3 separate regions of the Homo sapiens genome follow, and all the other regions are linked to region 2. The links are contacts of gene promoters, found by promoter capture Hi-C in human tissues and cell types (Jung and others, 2019). All regions are on one chromosome and are shown on one strand. The core of a region is centred on a gene start or on the middle of the fragment in contact, and the rest is flanking DNA. Distances in the headings are between cores, read along the strand shown.

What was found. Contacts are between HindIII fragments. The study calls those that stand out against the background at their distance.
Region 1: a contact is called between a fragment that was not itself captured here and the fragment with the promoter of PLEKHO2 in region 2, in 1 of the 25 tissues and cell types used here (dorsolateral prefrontal cortex).
Region 3: a contact is called between a fragment that was not itself captured here and the fragment with the promoter of PLEKHO2 in region 2, in 1 of the 25 tissues and cell types used here (pancreas).

Annotation. Positions count from the first base shown.
Region 1 is chr15:63,602,998-63,606,849 of GRCh38, forward strand. It overlaps a transcript of FBXL22 not described here. Among named protein-coding and RNA genes, the nearest start is that of USP3-AS1, 4.1 kb to the left of the region's middle. The HindIII fragment of the contact is 8,176 bases long and covers 1-3,852 here.
Region 2 is chr15:64,840,154-64,843,984 of GRCh38, forward strand. It overlaps PLEKHO2 (pleckstrin homology domain containing O2), which reads left to right and starts at 1,762. Exons shown (of 6, transcript NM_025201.5): 1 at 1,762-1,875. The coding sequence starts at 1,864. LOC124903508 (a long non-coding RNA gene) reads right to left here and starts at 3. Exons shown (of 4, transcript XR_007064682.1): 1 at 1-3. RefSeq lists silencers at 1,285-1,604, 1,615-2,054 and enhancers at 1,862-2,385, 2,418-2,969. The HindIII fragment of the contact is 9,878 bases long and covers 1-3,831 here.
Region 3 is chr15:63,778,061-63,781,536 of GRCh38, forward strand. The region is part of intron 1 of HERC1 (HECT and RLD domain containing E3 ubiquitin protein ligase family member 1); the gene reads right to left. Among named protein-coding and RNA genes, the nearest start is that of HERC1, 54 kb to the right of the region's middle. The HindIII fragment of the contact is 4,733 bases long and covers 1-3,476 here.

The DNA of each region.
Region 1 (3,852 bases), core at 779-3,278, 1.2 Mb before region 2:
GCCTTAAAATAGACTCCACGTCCCTCCCCTTTCTCACCAGATATGCTCCCTTTTCATTTATCTAACTGTATGCTACTATTTAATTGTGTGATGTCTTAGAAGTTTCAGTGGCTAATCTTGAGACAGACCAAGCCTGGAGACCCAGCTGCAAACCTCCAAAAATTACTTCAAAATGGCTAATTAACAACCTGACCATTGTTAAAATAATGTCAATCCGAGGTCCAGGTGGACTGAAGCCCAAGATAGCCACCAGAACAAAACACACAGACATCATACTCAGCCCATTTCTTGCATGCCTTCCTTATCAAGTCTTCCCTTTTAAAAACCCTAAAAATTGCTTTCCCCTCTAAAAATTGAAGCAGTTACTTTAAATAGCAATCTGGCTACTTCCCCCTTTACTAGTTTTGGGTAATAAATTTGCTTTTTATTACTAGACTTCGTTCTTGTTAATTCAAGCATCTGCACCTGCTTTGTTTGGTTATGGTAAGGGATGGGGGTAGCAGTGGATGGACAGATTAATGTGAGGAAGAAATGAGAGATGAAGGTTCCCCCTCAGCCCAACCTACCCCCAGAAGGAACCAGGGCGCCATGCACAGATGATAGGTGAAGTCCCAGCGGCCCTGGATTTTGTTCCAGGCAGAACATGTGGACAGGCAAGCAGCACCCTGTCCCACACCAGCCCTTCTGGGGACTGCCAAAGGGCTCCGGGCTGGGGCAGTGCTTACTCCAGAAACAGGGTAGCCACAGTAAGCCCTGGCCCAGCATAATCCCTTTGTCAGGAGAGCCAGCTCTGTCACACCACCAGCTGCAGTGGAGTGGCAGGACTCTGCTACTAGCCTGTGAGACACAGGCTGCTTTTTGGTGATTTCTCAGTTTGCCCACCATTGCTTTGCACTCTGGAGAGGCGTTGTTGGGAACGAATTTTTCTCCCATTACTCTGAACACTGTTGAAAGCAAGCTCAGGCTTCCAGGGGGTTGAATGTTTGTCTACAACAGAGCCACTTAAACCCCAGGCCTTTGTTTTCATCTTCTCCAAAAAGCCCCAATTTCTAGTATGTTCTATTTGTCCTAAATTGGTGGCTTAGCCTGGACAACAACAGGATCCTGGCTTCAGGATCTAATGGATCTGGGTTTCCATCCCATTTCCCTCACTTTCTAGCTCTGTGACCAAGGACAGATTGGCCCTCTCCAAACCTGTTTTCTTATCTGAGTACTAAGGATAACAAGGGAACCTTGCTTTTGGGGTTCTTTTAAGGACTGTGATTATGTAAAGCAGGGGTCACTATAGGTTGAGCTAGAATGGGGTAACCTGCATTCCCCGACAACCCCCCTTTCCCATGGAAGCTCTTTTGTAGTAAGGGTTAAGTTCCCAGTTAACCCTCCAATGCCAACTAACTCCCCTGCATCCCAAGACATAGTGATCACAGAACTCAAGCAGTGCTGGCAGCTGTGTCCAGTGCTGTTTCTAGGGACCCAAATTGGCCCCCACCTTAGCCAGAGGAGCTTTGGGTTCTGAAGTGAAGGGTCATTTTAGGTGCCCCCAGAAGGTGGGCACTGATGGAGACACATGGCTCTCCACTCTGCCTTCTAACAGACACTGTTCACCACCAGGCATGAGCAAAACACTTAACAGAGCGCAATACCTCACTTAATCTACAAAACCACTTTTGGAGCTTCCAGATAGCTACATGCATGGAGGTTCCTGGAGGGTGGTGTGTCCAGGGAGGGCATGGAATCTCCGTGCCCCTTCCCCACTAAATTAAAAGGTAAAAAACAGCCAGGTGCAGTGGCTCACGCCTGTAATCCTAGCACTTTGGGAGGCCAAGGCGGGCGGATCACCTGAGGTCAGGAGTTCAAGACCGGCCTGATCAACATGGTGAAAAACTCTCTTCTAAAATACAAAAATTAGCTAGGCATGATGGCGGGTGCCTGTAATCCCAGCTACTTGGGAGGCTGAGATGGGAGAATCGCTTGAACCCGGGAGACAGTGGTTGCAGTGAGCCGAGATCGGGCCACTGCACTCACTGCACAGCCTGCGCAGCTGAGCAAGACTCCGTCTCAAAAACAAAAAAAAAAGTAAAAAACAAAAGAAAAATCCTTTCAAACTTAGGTTAGCATATAACAAAGAGCCCTGCAGACTTAATTAATCCACCAACTAATTCATCTCACAAGCATTTACTGGGTATTGGCCATGGGCTGGGCCAGGCCCTACCTGGAGTGACTCAGCCCTAGTTAGAAGACATGCAGCTGAGGTTGAGGGGGTGTTCTTGAGTGATCTCCAAGCTTTGCCATTCATAGCTTTTGACGAGATATGACCTCTCTGAGCCTCCGTTTCTTTATTTGTAAAATGGGACCAATACCCTCTTGGGACTGGGGGATAGGGGGAGGTATCCTCATATCCTTGGGGGGCTAGAAAAGCTGAGTGCCTGGCACAACACACAAATCCCAGGCACTGGGAAGAAGCAAGCCAGGTCTATCTGTGGGTAAGCCAGGCACCCTTTGTGGCAGACAGAGCTTTTGAGCTGGGCCACAGGTTCCAACCGTTAAGGAGAATATTTCCATTGGCAGGCATGGCACAGCAAAGGCAAAGGTCAAGAAGCCCAAGGCATATCCAGGGAAGGGGTGAGCCAGGGCTGATGGAAGCCTGATTGTATTCCCGAGCCACCCAGAAATGGTTTGGGATTATCTATGCCCTCACAGCCTCTATTAGATCATAGACATCCCTCAACTCCTGCAATGCTAACTCTTTCTAAGGTTTGGCCAAGGCAGCGAATGGTCACTTGCAGGTGAAGGTGGTGGGAGAGAACAGAACCTCACCACTGGGGCAGGACACTGCTCCCTGGCTGAAGGCTGACCTGTCACCACGTTGCACTGGTCTGCATAGGAGCCCCAGTGCCGGCAGAGAGACCAGGGCCACAGGCTCTTAGGTCAGGGTTCCAGATCTCCCCCAGGAGGCAGCAGGCTGCTAGCAGGAGGTGGTGCTCTGAGGCTTGTCTTACAGAGACACACTGGCCTGTTTCTGCACAGGATGAGTGTTCGGAGGGGAAGTGACTGAGCCACCCCGGCTCTACCACGGCACGCTGACAGGAAGCAGAGGCTCCCAGTTCTAGTCGGGGCACACCTATGATCCAACTTTCCCTCTCCTGACCTTGGATTCTTGGTTTATAAAGGCAGAGATCATCTGACCCCTTAGAGACTTTCCCTCCAGCTCTAGGATTCAATGCCCAAGATCTGCTTTTGGCTAAAAACCAAGCTCACAAGATGTGGGCTTCATCCGGCCAGAAGTCCTGGGCAAAGGCCACAAAGCTAGGAGGCCCAGAACAAAGCCATACTTTGAAGGATGTCTGGAGAAATCTTAAATTTTAAAAACTGATGGTCAACGTTTGCTTGAGGCTGCTTAAGGGTCATAAAAACTGCAAGTATCTGTTAAGTGAATGAGGCCAGCAAACAACTGCCTAAGCCTCTCTAAGAGCTGAAAGTAAACCAAGGGAAGCACCTGCACCAGGCCCACTTCAGCTCCTCAGATCAGGGACTTGTGCTTCCCCCTTTCCAGAGTTTTCAAAAAGTCAAGAGAGGCCGGGCACAGTGGCTCATGTGTGTAATCCCAGCACTTTGGGAGATCAAGGTGGAAGGACTGCTTGAGGCCAGGAGTTCCAGACTAGCCTGGGCAACATAGTGAGACCCTGTCTCTGCAAAAATGAAAACATAGTCAAGACAATGAGGAAATAACAGTTTCTGGCAACGAAACAGTGTGTGTTATAAAATCATGGCACTGTGCAGATTCCCCTCACAGGGTCAAACCTGAGCTGCTGTCTGTTAGCCCTGAGCCCAGGACCTGCAACCATGAGTGCC
Region 2 (3,831 bases), core at 512-3,011:
CTCTTTTCCCTCCTTGCGTCCCTCCCTCCCTCCCTTCTCTCTCTCTCCCTTTTTTTTTTTGACAGAGTTTCACTCCTGTTGCCCAGACTGGAGTGCAATGGCGTGATCTCAGCTCACTGCAACCTCCGCCTTTCGGGCTCAAGCGATTCTCCTGCCTCAGCCGCTCAAGTAGCTGGGATTACAGGGATGCACCACCTCGCCTGGCTAATTTTCTATTTTTAGTAGAGACGGGGTTTCTCCACGTTGGTCAGGTTGGTCTGAACTCCCGACCTCAGGTGATCAGCCTGCCTCAGCCTCCCAAAGTGCTGGGATTACAGGTGTGAGCCACCGCTCCCAGCTCTTTCTTTTCTTTCCTTCCTTCCCTCCGTCCTTCCTTCCTCTCTCCTTCCTTGTTTCTTTTCTTTCTTTCCTTCCTTCATTTCTCTTTCTTTTCTTTTTCTTTCTTTCCTTTTTTCCTTCCTTCCCTCCCTCCTTCCTCTCTCTCTCCTTCCTCTCTCTTTCTTTTCTATTCTTTCTTTTTCTTGACCAGTGTGATAATATCAGCCTCAATTTTCTTCATTCCTTTAGCTAAAGGATCCCAGGCCTAGGCATGAGGGAGAAGTGTACCTGCATCTCCTTCCCCCTTGGCCTGGGAGCCCCAGGCTGCCCTTTTCCGTACAGGGCTGGAAGTAGCCTGGGAGCCTGAGGGCTGGCAGAAGGCCGTGAAAGGGGAGCTTGGTCGCTGGCACAGCCGCTGCTATGGCAGCCAGAGCCGAAGAAGGTCACCATTGATCTCACATGCACTTAATTTTCCCTTCCTTGGCATGGGACGGGGTTGACCAGGAGAGCTAAGGGGGAGTATGCGTGTGTGTGTGAGAGGGGAGCGGTGCTGCAGGCTGCGATGCAGCCAGTTACTTTCTCTCTCTGGGCCTCAGTTTCTCCAATGTAAAATGAGGGCGCATGGTATAACTAAAATCATTACTCTCTGCTGGTCCCCACACTCCCACTCTCCAGTAAGGCTGTCAGGGCTGCAAGCTCACCGCGGGATCGGGGGGATGGTCGACCCTCAGATACGGGAGGGATTGAGCGATGCCCAAGGAGAGCAGGAGAACACTGCGCTTGGAGACCCCTGAGAGCCAGGGGCGGGCCGCCCCCTAAAGGGACCCCGGAGTCCCGACTCTCAGCTCCAGCTCTTCCTGTGACACCACCCTCCGGACAGAGACCCAAGCTCCAGGCCCGGCCCCGCCCAGAGGTTCCAGGGAGAAGACCAGGCCACCGCCCACTGCCCGGCGTCGGGGAGGAAAGAGGAGGAGCCTCTGTGTGCCCACATCTCTGGCCGCCCAGGGCAGCTCGGCTCGGTCTCGCAACCCCAGCCCACTGGTTCGGGAGACCTCAAAGGCTCCACCGCCAGCGCCCCCAGCGCTCACTGTGTGCGCCCCACCCCAGCCCTGCCTGCGCGCCGCTCCCGCCACCCTCGCCTCAGTCTCTGGGCCGGAAGCCCCCTCTCCTCCCCCGCCGCAGCCCCCTCCTAGTCCCTCTCCCTCCGCCGATGCGGGAAACCTTCTCCGCCCCGTCCCGCCCTCTTCCTCCAGTTGCATCTCCGCCCGGCTCCTCCGTCCAGTCTCCAACCCAGGCCCCGCCCCTCCCCACCCATTTCCCGCCCTGGGCCGGGCCCCCGGCCCCACCGCCCCCTCCCCGGCCCCGCCCCGGCCCCCGGAAGCCTCACCCCGCCCCCGGCCCCGCCCCCCCGAAGTTTCTTGGGCCCCCGGCAGCCGGCGGGACAGAACGCGGAGAGTCGCCGCCTGGCCGGGCGTAGACGCGGTGGCAGAGCCCGCGCGGCGCTGGAAGCGAGTGGCGGAGCGGCGGGACCTCGGCGGACTCGCCATGGAGGAGGAGGTGAGGGCGGGGCCCGGCGGGGCGTTGGGCTGGGGTCCTCGAGCCCCTCACGGGGATTGCGGTCCTGGGCTCAGGCCCTCGTTCCTGCCCGCCCCACTCCCGCCAGTCTCACCTCAGGAAGAGCCTGGGCAAATGGGGCAGGGGCGAGGGGCTGGATCCATATCGGGGACTTCGCAGACCGCGTCCTCCTTCATTCTCGCTGACTTTCTCACCAGTTGTGGGGCGTCGTGGTTGTTACCGTTCCCATTGGATTGACCAGGAGACTGAGACTCCAGCGAGATTGATGACTTGCTGAAAGTGGCCTGGGTGACTGGGCTCGAACCCCGATTACCGTGGTCGGATCCTGACTCTCTCTCTCTCTCTGTGTGTGTGTGTGTGTGTGTGTGTGTGTGTGTCGGATCCTGACTGTGTGTGTGTGTGTATGTGTGTGTTGGGGGGTTCCTGTCTCAAGGATCGGATCCTGACTCTGTGTGTGTGTGTATGTGTGTGTTGGGGGGTTCCTGTCTCAAGGATGTGACCATGCTTTGGTGGCAGGAGGATTGGAGAAGTTGCTTTTTTCTCCCTTGTATAAGTCTCTGTATCTTTTCCCCCACTCTCTCCCCGCTCCACATCCATCTGAGCAGCTAGCTGTAGGGAAGGAATCGGGAGTCCGGCCCACCTAGGGTCTGATCTTAGTCCCTGCCTTCCCCACCCGAGGGCTGGACCAACTGTGTCCCTGGAGCCTCCTTCTAACCACTCAAAACACTCTTGGCCTGGGATTGGGTCTTGCCCCTGCCCCTGCCCTTTACTTGCAAACTCAGTTCTGCCAGCAGCCGCTTTATCCGAGGGTCCAGCACGCAGCAAGCACTTAATATATGCCTGTGGAATGATTAAGTTAAAATGAGGGGCCTGTTGGGTCTAGAGGAAGGTGAATTTGTTTCTTATCCCCTGAGGGGGTCCCAGCTTCAGCCCCTCTCAGCCCAAGGGAAGGGGCATGTCTTTGCCTCCTTGGATGGGGAGGAAAGATGAAGTTCTCTGCCTTGGGGGAACCCTGGCCAGCTGGGAAGCCCTGAGTGGACCGGACTGCCTGTGTCCCTTCAGTGCCCACCTCCCACTTTTCCAGGGCCATGGATAGGAGCAGCTAGTGGTCCGTCAGGGCTCCCTCTAGGCCAGGCCCTGCCTTTCTGTGGGATGGTAGATAAGTCACTTCCCCTCTCAGCCTTCATTTCCTCTTCTACAAAATATAGTGCCTGTCCTCCTCATACTCCTGGCCTGACAGTGGCCGGTTCTCTCAGTGGGTGAAGGTAGGGGGCAAAGTCAGGCCTCTGTGATTTGCTGCGGTTTCTTTCTGGCTGTTAGGTGGGGCTGCCATCTGCCTGCCCCAGGCCCCTGCTGCAAGGGCTGGGCTCTCTGGCCAGGGCCCCTCCCCTGCTCCCAGAGGATGTGGGTCAGGATTACTCCATCTCCTGATCTGCGCTGGCCCCTGATTAAGGGAAGTTCTCCGGACACCTCCTGGGCCCGGCTCAGCTCTGTACACCCTTGGTCCTGAATCTCTCACATTGTCACTTTCTTTTCTTTTTTTTTTTTTTTGAGACGGAGTTTCGCTCTTGTTGCCCAGGCTGGAGTGCAGTGGCGAGATATTGGCTCACCGCAACCGCCACCTCCTGGGTTCAAGCAATTCTCCTGCCTCAGCCTCCTGAATAGCTGGGATTACAGGCATGCACCACCACGCCTGGCTAATTTTGTATTTTTAGTAGACATGGGGTTTCTCCATGTTGGTCAGGCTGGTCTCGAACTCCTGACCTCAGGTGATCCGCCTGCCTCGGCCTCCGAAAGTGTTGGGGTTACAGGCATGAGCTATTGCACCCAGCCTATATTGCCACTTTCTGACTCCTAGATGCCCAAAGCTCTCTAAATATCTGGGCCATCTAAGTTCTTGTCCACTTTACCCAAGCCCCTGCAAGCCTCACCCCCACA
Region 3 (3,476 bases), core at 300-2,799, 1.1 Mb before region 2:
AGGAAAAATTAAATTCTATACCAAACCACACCTGTAGCATAACTTGAAGATACAGAATGCCAAAATTGCAAATAATTGTAAATAAAAAAGAGAAAAAGTCAACCAATCCAGGGTACATGCTTTCACCTCCATCCAGCCATAAGGCTTTGTGGCAAGCAAAGGCAGACTAAGAAAAACTGCAGAAAAGACAGAGGAGAAAGGCTAGTGAAGGGGGCTAAAAATGATTTGGAGTGACTCCCAGAAAGATTAAATCCACACCGTATCTGAAAACACTGGAAAAGTATCTGGGCAGATCAGAGCACAGACTACAGGGAAGAGATTTTAAAGTACATTTAATTTAAAGCAGAAGGCACGGTTTAAGACAGCAGGTGCAATTTAAAAAGACAAGTGTTAAATAAGCATTTGTTGAAACGCAGAGGAAAGAAAAAGCAAAAAGGAAGAGAGAAGCATGCTTTAACAACTGAGTGGTGAAGGGTAAAAGAAGAAAAAGGGGAAATATTTAGTGTCCTGCAAGGCAAAATAGACCCATAAAATTGAAGACAGAACAACCCTTTCCTCAAGTAAAACAAACAAAATTTCTGCTATTGTATTTGGACTTTGCTATATTGACTGAAGAGAATGCAATTAAATTAAGAATATTATAAAATACTCGATACCACAAAAACGAACATGAGAAAACTCAAGTGCATACAGAGCTATTGCAGAAAACAAAACAAAATTAAATTTTACATTTATCAATTGAGGGAAATTCCCTGATGACGACAAAGCAAAGTGTAAGTTAACAATCCAAACAAAATTAAATAAACTGAAACATATGATGATATGAAAAATCCTGAATCAAAAATTCAAAAACTGAAAGCAGAAATAGACAAAAAGAAAGAAAAAGAAGAAAAGGAAAGGAAGAAAGAAAGGGAAAGAGGTAATTGAACTCAGGAAAGAAATATGAAGAAAAAGGCAAAATTATCTCAGCAATGAAGAATGAATTATAAAAGTGTTCAAGGAAGAGTAGACTCAATGACATAAAGAAAAATGAAAAGGGTGAGAGAAATAATTAGAAAAAGATAAGAAAAAAGAATAATATTCATATTATTGGATTACGTGAGGAAGAAAAATACAAAACAAACAAAAACAGAGCTGGTTTTATAGCTACAATGCAAGAAAACTTTCTAAAATAGAAAAAATATCTGAATCAATATACAAGGTACTTGAGAAAATTAACCCAGACAATCAACTCCAAGAAATAGCCTAGAAAAACTATTATATTTCAAAGACAAAGATAAAATCCTAAAGACCTCCAAGCAAAGAGATGAAATTACTTTAAAAAGCAAAAGAATTAGCCAGGCATTATTTTAAAACAAAATAGCACAGCCACAGCTTTTATAAAGCAAAAACTACAGGAGATGCAAGGAAACATAAATAGAAACACTAATAACGTGAGACATGAATATACCACTCTTAGTACAAGATGGATCAAGTGAACAAAAATAAGAAAACAGAAGATCTAAACAACAAAATAACTCACTTTTCCACTAACAGGATCTATTTCTGGATTCTCTATTCTGGTCCACTTGTCTATTCTTACAACAGTGACTTGATTACAATAGGCTTATAAATGTATAAATGTTCTGATGACTGGTAAGGCAAGTCCCAAAAGTTTAAGATGATATTATTCAGGCCAGGCACGGTGGCTCACGCCTGTAATCCCAGCACTTTTGGAGGTCGAGGTGGGAGGATCACGAGGTCAAGAGATGGAGACCATCCTTGCCAACATGGTGAAACCCCGTCTTTAATAAAAATACAAAAATTAGCCAGTAGTGGTGGTGCGCGCCTGTAGTCCCAGCTACTTGGGAGGCAGAGGCAGGAGAATCGCTCGAACCCGGGAGGTGGAGGTTGCAGTGAGCCGAGATCACAAGACTGCACTCCAGCCTGGCGACAGAGGGAGACTCCATCTCAAAAAAAAAAAAAAAAAAAAGATTATTTTATTCAATTATATGCCATCCCTTCCAACACACTATTGAGGTTCCAATCTGAATTGCATTAGATTTATGTACTTTCAGAAAATAGACATTTTTATGAAATTTGTTCATCCAAGGACAAAGTATGCATTTCTATTTGCTCCTATCCTATTTTAGATTTTCTTCATATAAATCCTGTGCTTTTCTGTTGATTCTTAAGTATTTTTGATTTTGTGATTACTATGAATGGAATTTCCTCATTTCCATTTCTGGTTAATTACTGCTGTCTAGTCATCTGGGTAAATCCATATATTTTCCAAAATTATACAAAGACAGAACAGGAAATGAATCAAAGAAACAGAGGCCATCTAACAACAGGAAATAAAGAAAGAAAACAAGCAAGTATTAAAAAGGTAAAACAGAAGGCCGGGCGCGGTGGCTCATACCTGTAATCCCAGTACTTTGGGAGGCCGAGGTGGGCGGATCACGAGGTCAGGAGATTGAGACCATCCTGGCTAACACGGTGAAACCCCATTTCTACTAAAAATACAAAAAAATTAGCTGGGCGTGGTGGTGGGCACCTGTAGTCCCAGCTACTCGGGAGGCTGAGGCAGGAGAATGGTGTGAACCCGGGAGGCGGAGGTTACGGTGAGCCAAGATCGTGCCACTGCACTCCAGCCTGGGCAACACAATGAGACTCCGTTTCAAAAAAAAAAAGGTAAAACAGAGACTAAAGGTTAGCTGTAAGACCGAGCACAGCTACTACATCAACATCTGTAAAATTCACCTATTAAAACCAAAAGATAAAGACTGATGTGAAATAATAATAACCTATATGCTAACTGAATAAAACATATATGAAAGTAGTTATGGCCCAAAATTTATAATCTCTGCTATAAATTAAATGTATATAACTATAAATCTAATAAGTAAATCATTTTTTAAATGTATATCCTAAGTGATGGATCTAAAACAAGTGATTTCAAAATGTTGAAGATAAAATGTAGGGTAATGATATAACAAACAAATGCAAACAGAAAAAGTATCATCTGTTAGGTAATAAATGGGACAAAAAGGGTTACTTGGTAATGATGAACAGTATAATCACTAATAAAACTGTCACAAACAGTTTTATTTTACTACAAGCAGAGTTATAAAACAATGAAGCGGAAACCACAGAGAATATAGGAAGAATGGCAACCACAGTAATAGAGACTTAAATACAGCCATACCTCATTTATTGCACTTGACTTTACTGTGCTGTACAGATACTGCATCTTTTTTACAAATTGAAGGTTTATGACAACCCTCATTTGAGCAAGTGTATTGGTGCCATTTTTCCAAAAGTACGTGTTCACTTCATGTATCTGTGTCACATTTTGGTAATTCTTACAATATTTCAAACTTTTCATTATTATTATAACTGTTATGGTAACCTGTAATCAGCAAGCTTTGATTGTTATTATTGTAATTGTTTGGGGGTGCCACAAAGCACACCCATATAAGATGGCAAACTTAATC